2 separate regions of the Homo sapiens genome follow, and region 1 is linked to region 2. The links are contacts of gene promoters, found by promoter capture Hi-C in blood cells and fetal thymus (Javierre and others, 2016). All regions are on one chromosome and are shown on one strand. Each heading gives the region's core, a stretch centred on a gene start or on the middle of the fragment in contact. The rest is flanking DNA. Distances are from core to core; before and after follow the strand shown.

Evidence for each region. The method cuts DNA at HindIII sites, captures the fragments that hold promoters and counts their contacts. A CHiCAGO score of 5 or more calls a contact.
Region 1: a fragment that was not itself captured here is called in contact with the fragment with the promoter of CCDC68 in region 2 in 1 of 17 cell types (erythroblasts); the score reaches 5.1 in erythroblasts.

Annotation. Positions count from the first base shown.
Region 1 is chr18:54,739,005-54,743,558 of GRCh38, reverse strand. It overlaps a transcript of RAB27B not described here. Among named protein-coding and RNA genes, the nearest start is that of RAB27B, 87 kb to the left of the region's middle. The HindIII fragment of the contact is 286 bases long and covers 1,468-1,753 here.
Region 2 is chr18:54,957,402-54,962,251 of GRCh38, reverse strand. It overlaps CCDC68 (coiled-coil domain containing 68), which reads left to right and starts at 2,791. Exons shown (of 12, transcript NM_025214.3): 1 at 2,791-2,916. The HindIII fragment of the contact is 7,607 bases long and covers 1-4,850 here.

The sequences.
Region 1 (4,554 bases), core at 361-2,860, 220 kb after region 2:
TGAATGGCTCATTCCCTCACTGATCTCAGGACTCTGCCTAAGTTCCACATGGACTGAGTTTTCCTCACTCATGATTCAATGGAAATCAGCTCCTACTCTCTCGGCCCTTGATCTTCATTAATTATTCACATCTGACATATTATAGCTGCATTTCCATATTTGCATTGTACTGTCTGGAGCTCCAAGATAACAGGAACTCTATTATCAGCCCCTAGAAGAGGATCTGATTCATAGTAGGAACTCAATCAATATGGGCTGAATGAATAATAGAATACCACCACAAAAAGAGCTTCTAATTCAGTTATGTTAATATAGTGACATAAAATGCTGAAAATTACAGTGACACAAAATGTTGAAAACTACAGTATGTAAAAGCTAAATAGCACAATAGCTGAATGAGATGCTGCAGAGTAGTGTGGAATTAAGGACCAGATACAAAATCATTGGCTTAGGCAATAAGAGTGGGTGTCCAAGAATGCTTGAGATTATGTTATACAGGACCAGGAAGAAAAGTGATCTTCTCTGTTTCTATCTAGGCTTGAAAATCTTGTTCCAAATTGGAAGACACACTTCTGAGGATTGCCAGCAACTTCTGCAGGCTTCCAAAAGTAGTACATGGTCTGGTCATCCTGCCAAAAGCTGACCTCACAGGGTGAGTTGACATAGATGCAAAATTTGCAAGGCTTTCCTGCACACTTTAGGAGTCATGAGCCCTATTATCAAGGTCCTGGGATATGGCCAACATCCACAGAGGAAAGCACAGTGTTATGCAACTGGAAGCTTTTGGTCTTCATATGCAAGTGGGCAGCATCCTCCTTGTGGTTAGACTCCAGGGATTTGCTGTTTTCTGTCTCACAGTCTAGAAACATAGAAAATCTGGAAGCCAGACTGCCTTACACCTACCACTCAGCTGTCTTCAGGGCACTTGTTCTCATAATTACTTGCTTTATACTCAGAAAATGCAAATAAACTTGATTATTAGCAGAGGCAAAACACAGAAATGAAGGCCAATCTATTGCAGACATAGCAAATGTATTCTTAGTAAATAAATTACAAATGATTTAAATGACCTTATACTTTATAACATTTGTATGACTGACCCCAACTTCCTCCTGCCTTCCGTTCTGATAGATTTAAGTAACATCATGTACATGTACTTTTAGGTTTTTGAAAAACAAGCTAGGATGCTTATAAACTCAGAAAGATGAAACTGCTTCCAGGCAATTTAATCATCAAATAAACCGCATGTACGATAATGACTTCAACACTGTATTCCACCCACCATTACGACTGCCAGAAAGGTCTCTCCTGTAAGTTTCCTGAAGGACAGTGTTACAAGAGGCTTACAGTTTCCTCCAGGGTGATAATTAAGTCATTTTGCAAACAATTGCCTTAAAGGCTTTCTCCTGGTCATTTGTCCTAATCAGAAAAATAAGACTGCTTTAGATTCTCTTTCCCTTTCAAGCTTTGCATATGAAAACATTCACTCCTCTATGAAAAGCTGCATTAACTTTTACACTGAAATATACTTTTATTTGTAGCACAAGCCTTCAGGCCAAAACAAACCCCTTAAGACTGATTTTGCCAGAAGGTAGAATGTCAGAATCCTCAGAGCTTGTTTTTGCAAGTATTTAACTCTAGACTATGTCTTCAGATATTATAGAGGCCTTGACTTCTTACCTACTGCCAGCTTAGGCAAAAGGAGAACTAAGCCATTGCCAGGAGGTAGGTCACTTTTTACTTAAAGAAAGCTTAGAGGCCAGGTACAGTGGTTCACCCCTGTAATCTCAGCACTTTGGGAGATGGAGGTGGGTGGACTGCTTGAGCCCAGAGTTCAAGACCAGCTTGGGCAACATGGTGAGACCCTCTCTCTACAAAAAATACAAACAAACAAAAAATTAGCTGGGCATGGTGGTGCATGCCTGTAATCCCAGCCACTTGGGAGGCTGGGGTGGGAGGATGGCTTGAGCCCAAGAGTCAGAGGTTGTAGTGAGCTGAGATTGTACCACTGCACTCCAACCTGTGCAACACAGCGAGGCCCTGTCTCAAAAAAAGAAGAAAAAAAGAGCTTAGAGTTCTTGGTTCAGCAGCACAGTACATAAGATTGGAATGATTCTTAGTAGCTTCTCATGGCCACTATATTTCTTAAAAGCCAGATGCACAACAGTGAACTTAGTATACTAACTTTTTTGTGACAAAAGGGAGGAAATAATATACATTCATCTTTGACTGTATTGGCAAATGGAAACACTGAATAGGTGATAAACCTCTTTAGCTTTAAGGAACAGGGCTGTGGGTGACATGGTGGGATGGGCGGAGGAATGTAGGTGAGTGTTCTAATGTTGTCCTTTTGTATTTTTCAAGTTTTGATTTACTAATTCAAAATTTAAAGGGTCTCATAGGAAGATATGGTCTTAGTAACATTTAACTGTATTTTACCTTATCTTTGAAAATTATTGTGATACCACTTGCCTCTTAGGTTTTGTATGCTAGGGACACTATTTAGTATCCATGACTTCCGGAATAAATGCTTTTTATGAAAGTAGGTTATTAGATTATCATCATGACCAAAAACCTAGGTAGAGTTTATTGAAAATAAAGACCAAGTTTTAGTCTTGTCATATGTTTTCATCAATTTCTCAGCCTCCTTTCTTCTGTTAATAAAAATGCACTAGCAGTAAAATCTCCTCATTTCATTCTTTATATTATCTATCTATCGATCTATCATCTATCTATCTATCTATCATCTGTCTATGTCTATCTATCACTTAGTGAGAGCCTGCTATATACTGGCTTATATATCCCAAGCTTTACATTTTACAAATGAAGGAAGCTGTGGCTCAGAACTTTTAAGAGACTTGCCAAAGTTGCTGATCCAGCATGTATACCTAGATCTAACTAATTAGAAAGCTCTCACTGTGCCAACAGGACCACTTTAGCCACTCCTAGGTCATGATTCTACTTGAGAGAAAGTGACATGTTGACTGGAGACATTCCACTGTCAAGCTGTGGAAACTCAGGCAGGTATCCTATAAATAAAACATTGGAAAGAAGGTCCTCATTTCCTTTCTTGTTCTAATATCCAGATGAGTTACGTTAGATTGCTCTCTTTAATAAAAATAGGTTCTGGAAATTTGTGTTGGAAAAAATGGTCTGAATACTAAAATGTTTATTCAACGTAAGGATTGCAAGAATGACTCATCATTTCCTTCATATCCCTGAGGCTCTATAACTCTTTCTATTTAGACATCTAAGGGGTTAGGAGGACAATGTCTGAGAATTGTTTCATTATCTGGGGATGAGCTAATAGAAACTATAAGAAATAATCATTCTTATAGGAAGATCCTTAACATTACTGCCTTATCCAGAATCAATCAAGTAACTGAATTTTAATAATTGTAGCCATGAGATGAATTCTTCCTCCATGAACTTGTTACCAGACCATGAACAAACCATAAAAGACAATAATAGGTAAGTGGGACTATATCAAATTAAGCTGTTATGAAAATAAAGAGGCAAGCTGCAGAATGAGAGAAGAACATATTTGCAATACATATATCTTACAAACAATTTGTATCCAGAATATATAGATAACTCTTACACATCTACATGGGCAAATGATTTGAGTAGACATTTCTCAAAAGAAAATATATGAATGTCTAATAAGCTCACATAAAGAAGCTCAATACCATTAGGACTTCGAAGAAATGCAAATTAATCACAGTGAGATACCACTACATACCCACTAGAAGGGTTAAACTTAAAAATATTAAGAATACGAAATGCTGATGGGAATGTGGAGAAACTATTTGTACTGGAGAAAGTAAAATGCAACAATCACTTTGGAATAAAATTTGGCAGCTTCTTACAAAGCTAAATGTACACTTAGCATGTGGCTCAGCCATTCCACTCTTAGGTATTCACCAAGAGAAATAAAAATGTGCCACACAAAGATTTGAAGATCAAAGGTCATAGCAACTTTATTCATAGCAGCAAAAAAAAAAAAGAAAGAAAAAAAGAAAGAAAGAATTTAAGGGTACATCAACAGGAGAATGGATTTTAAAAAGGTAGTATTTCTTTCTTTCTTTTTTTTTTTTTTTTTGAGATGGAGTTTCGCTCTTGTTGCCCAGGCTGGAGTGCAATGGCAGGATCTCAGCTCACTGTAACCTCCGCCTACCAGGTTCAAGCAATTCTTATGCCTCAGCATCCCAAGTAGATGGGATTACAGGCACCCACCACCACGCCTGGCTAACTTTTTGTATTTTTAGTAGGGATGGGGTTTCACCATGTTGGCCAGGCTGGTCTGAAACTCCTGACCTCAGGTGATCCACCCGCTTCAGCCTCCCAAAGTGCTGGGATTACAGGCATGAGCCACCACACCTGGCCAAAAGGTAGTATTTCTATATGGTGGAATACTATTGAGTACTAATAAATTAAAATGAAACAACACACAGCAAAACTCAAAAACATGACATGGAGTGAAAGCAGACATACACAAAAGCATACATATTGTATGATGCATTTATATGTAATTCCACAGAAGGCAAATCAACT
Region 2 (4,850 bases), core at 1,542-4,041:
CACAAGAATCTCAGCTTCATCTCTGACCTTGTCGCTTTCTTCTGGGATATTGTCTTAGTTCCAGGGGCTATAACAAAATAACATAGACTGGTATTAACTGGCTTCAACCACAGTTATTTATTTCTCACAGTTCTGGAGGTTGGGCAGTCCAAGATCAAGGCACCCAGAGATGTGGTGTCTGTGGAGGCCTGCTTCCTGGTTTGCAGATGGCTGCTTTCTTGCTGTGTTATCACATGACAGATATCTCTTCTCTCTCTCTCCCTCTCTTTATTTGAGACAGAGTCTCACTCTGTTACCCAGGCTGGAGGGCAGTGGTACACTGTCAGCTCACTACAGCCTCTACCTCCCAGGCTGAAGTGATCCTTTCGCCTCAGCCTCCTGAGTAGCTGGGACTACAGGAGTGCACCACCATGCTCAGCTAATTTTTGTATATTTTGTAGAGATGAGGTTTTGCCATATTGCCCAGGCTGGTTTCAAACTCCTGGGCTCAAGCGATTCACCTGCCTTGGCCTCCCAAAGAGATGGAACTATAGGCATGAGTCACTATTCCCAGCCTTTTGTCTCTTCTTAGAAGGGCACTAAAACCCACTCATGAGGGCTCTACCTTCATGACCTAATTACTTCCCGAAGACCCCACTTTCACCACCACGTTGGGGATTAGGATTTCATTATATAAACTTTTAGGGGGGAACACAAATCATTCAGTCCATAGCAGATATGGTGAGTCTTAGGTATGAAATGTTTTCCTTTAACTCTTACTTTTCTAACTTTGTTAAAAATAGTTGAAAGATAGAAAATGAGTTAGCTCTGCAGTTCTGGAGTACTCACTGGTACTTCACCGCATCCTGTGTTTACCCAGCTCAACCCAAGCTAATGGAGAAGTAGATTTCCTTCTCCAGGAAGGGTCAAGGCCAGGAAGAGAGGTGGACAGGTCTCAGAAAGCAGGCAGTGTCAAATGCTGAGCAAAAGCCAAGCTCAGAAGGAGGAAATGTGGTGTTTATGGAACCAACTTGCAAATGCAAACATGAGCAAACCAAAGCAATGTAACAAATGATCCTCAACAGCTGGGTTTCTTCAATGCTGAAACTTGTAATAAACATCCATGGCTATCTTTGGAACACGATTTGTCTGTAAACATACATACATCTATTTACTAGAACCACAAGGATTAGTTAACAAAAAAATTACCTAAGAACCATCAACTTTCACTTCTCCAATTGGGTCACAATCTACAAGTTAATCTGCTAGGAAAAAAAAAAAATAACATTCCTCTCTAACTGTGGTGGGAATCAGTAATCATAGGATTCCCAGGAAGATTCTGAAAAGCCCTTGGATATTGAAGGATTTGGGTTGCAGTTTTCTCAATCTGTTAGATGTTGAGGGGGGGCGGAGGAAATACACCTTTTTTTTTTCCCCACAATCCTAAAAGTTTATGAACTTTCAGAGAGACACAGGAGCCAACCTGAAAGAGTTCCCAGTGGTCAAAGCTGGAACCATTTGAGCAACAAAATTAATAATGTAGTATTGAATTCTAGCCCAAAGTATAAAATAAATATACATGGGTCCATACTGACATAACAAATACTGACATAAATGATTGAATAAACAAGAGAGATGGAACAAATCTTCCTTACAGAATCATTCTAAATAATAACATATAGATACTCCCTGCTCTGGGATGGAGTTTAATCTTGCCCTCATCTTGAGTGTCAGCTGAATTGAGTCATGCCATTCATGCCATTCAGAGTAGAGTGTATGGAAAGAGAAAAACAGCTTTGCAGTAGAGAAACCTGGCAGACACAACCTTAACTATGGGATCAAGGTCAAGTCACCAGTGATAAGTCACCTGGCCATCGTGCCATCGTCCCTGAGAGGATGCAGTGGGGAAGGCACTTCATCTCTGAGTCTTTCCTCCCCCCAGTCTCATCATGAGAAAAAAACAGTAGACAATACCCACATGAGTGGGTGTCGAGGTACCCCCACAAAACTATACCTTACCAGAATACTTCATCACAATACTTTACTAGAATTCTTTACAGCTGTCAAAGTCAAGAAAAGACAGAGAAACTGTCATGGATTAGAGGAGACAAAGGGCACAGGATGCTAAATGCAGTGTGGTATCCTGGCTGGGATCCTGAAAGGGAAAGGCGTTAGCCAAAAAGCTAGTGACAGCTACATCAAGTCTGGAGTAGTGTTAATAGTGGCAGATCAATGTTAATGTCTTTTAAAAAATATTTTTAGTAGAAATGAGGTCTCGCTATGTTGCCCAGGCTGGTCTCGAACTCCTGAGCTCAAGCGATCCTCCCGCCTGCCTTGGCCTCTCAAAATGCTGAGATTACCAAGGCGTGAGCCACCGCACCTGGCCCAATGTGAATTTCTTAGTTTTGACAAATGTGCCACAGTTATGGAAGCTGTAGGCATTAGGAGACACCGACTGAGGGGTATATAGACGACTCTCTCTACTATCTTTGCAACTTTTTTTAAGTTCCAAAAGAAAGTTTTTTAAAAAAACAACAAAATTGCACTTGTACTCCATAAATTTATACTAAAAACAATAAAATCAAAAATTATTTAAAAAACAAAAACAAAAGTTTATAAACTTAGGGTGCAAATAGAACCTTCTTGAAAAGCAGCGGCCGATCCCCTCCCCCCACCCGCCTGTACAGCACCCTAGCGAGGGGCGTGAGGGGCAGAGCCTGGCTCTCCAGCGCTGGGCGTACGCGTCCTGCCGCGACTCCTCCCCGGGGCCTCACCGGCGCCGGACTCTGCCCTGGGCGCGCCCCGCGGGGCGGAGCCAAGCCTGCGGGCGGTGGCGGCTGCACTCGCAGGGCCCTGGCAGCCGACCCTGGCCCCAAGGTCCGATCGCCCAGGGGAGGAGCAGCACCGGGACCCCGCGTCGGCTGGGCGCCCCACAAGGTAGGCGAGTCTGGCCACCTTCGGGCCCGGTCCCTGCGGCGCGCCCCCGCATCCCCTCCATGTGTGTGGGTGTCCAGGTGCCTTTCCAGCGGCTTCCCCAGTGGAGTTCCTGGCATCAAGGACATTTCCTGTAAAAGGGTCCTTGTTGAAGAGGTAATCCTCCCTGGAAACCTCGGTTCTGGGCTCGAATTTCCTGGGCGAGAAGTTTCTTCCCCATTGGGAAGAGCTGCTTTTCCGCAGAGAGGAACCCCTACTTAGTCCGGCGCACACCTGATTATTTATTTAGGTTGTTGTTATACAATCCGTTTGTCAGGGGTCCCCGCGATTTCTGCCTGCTAATTTCAGAGGCTATGGAGAAAAGTCCTGCGGTAAACGCCCTGACCTAGGAACTCCAGCGTGGTGGCTTTGACAGGTCACTGCGCTCGCATTTTTTAAAGAGCAGAGATGAATGAAGGTGGCTGTCTTCATTCATTTGTGCGGGCTTCTGCAGCCGCAGGTGTAGTAAAAAGAGCAGCCCATTGCTTGACCTTTTCCTTAATGTTGAGTAGCATCATGATATTTTAGATGTGGAAGTTACAGAGTGCTAGGCGGCTAGACAAAGGAACACTCTTATCTTACTGAAGGTTAGTACGGGACCGTGCAAGTGTAGTTTTTAGATTGGATGATAACATAGCTGTGAATTTTCAGCCTTTTTGGAAGTGAAGACAAAATTGAATATAAGGATCAGAACAAGCAACAAGCCCTGAACATAACTGAAGGTGTACCTGCTCCCCATTATATTCTGATTGTTTTATTTTAGGAATCAAAACCTCTTTTACTTTCTTGGTGTATATAGTTCGGATGAAGTGTCAGAATACAAAAAGGAATTATTCTGTGTTTGTGATAGGGAGGAGATAATCTGTTCTTTTGATTTTACCTAATGCCATTAAATATTCAGAGCTACTGAAGTCTGGTTTTCCTGATATGTGAGCTGGGCAGGAGTGTCAGGTACCCTGGCAGACACAATTGGTGCTGTTGTTATGCTTTTCCCCCGCTGCCCACTCTCTTCCCCACCCCACTCCCAATTTGAGAGGGAAGGCCCCTGACACAGAGGAATTTCTGCCCAAGGCAGGGAGTATCCCCGTGTGGTTCCTCAAATGTTTGCAGAAAGAATGAAAACAACTACACTTCTTGGGACCCAGGCCAACGTCATAAGGCCGACGTCATAAGAAGGTTCTTTCCTCTTGTTATTTACAAAATAAATTGATCCCTTGTCCTAACTAGAAAGAGACTTTTGAAATTAATACTGTTGCTATTTTGTGAATTACTGATAGGCATGTTATTTGTTAGCTTATTTGTTTACAGTATGCTCAACATTGAAGGTGAGTTGTAATCCAAATTTTGGCCAAAGCTAAAAAATGTAAGCTAGATTTAGACAAACCTGAAAAATGAGGTGTTTATTTGCTTGGAATAATGACTGAAAGGGGAAATAACTGAAGATTTTGATGGGAATGTAAAAGTCTTTTAAAATAGTAGTTTCTCATCTTTAGAACTGAGATATTTACATCAAAATTATATGGCTATTTATTGATTGAAAACATTTCATAATGGCAAAATTTTACCATGAATTTACTAACACGTTTAAATGAATGTCATTTACTAAGCACAAAAACAGCCATTTATATAGGTTTGGAAAATGAGAGAGAGAGAGAGAGAGAGAGAGAGAGAGTGTGTGTGTGTGTGTGTACATTGTTTTAGAAACTATTTGGTACATCTGTAAATTTGTGGGCCTATTCATGTATTCATTGAAACAATATTTATTGAGGACACTGTGTTCTGTGTGGGAGAACCAGATGGGAGGGGAAGTAGGGTCTGGGCCAAACACAGCCCTGTGTAAATCAGACACATTTCTATCCTCCTGGAATTTACTACATTGGAGTCCTCCAGGCCACCCC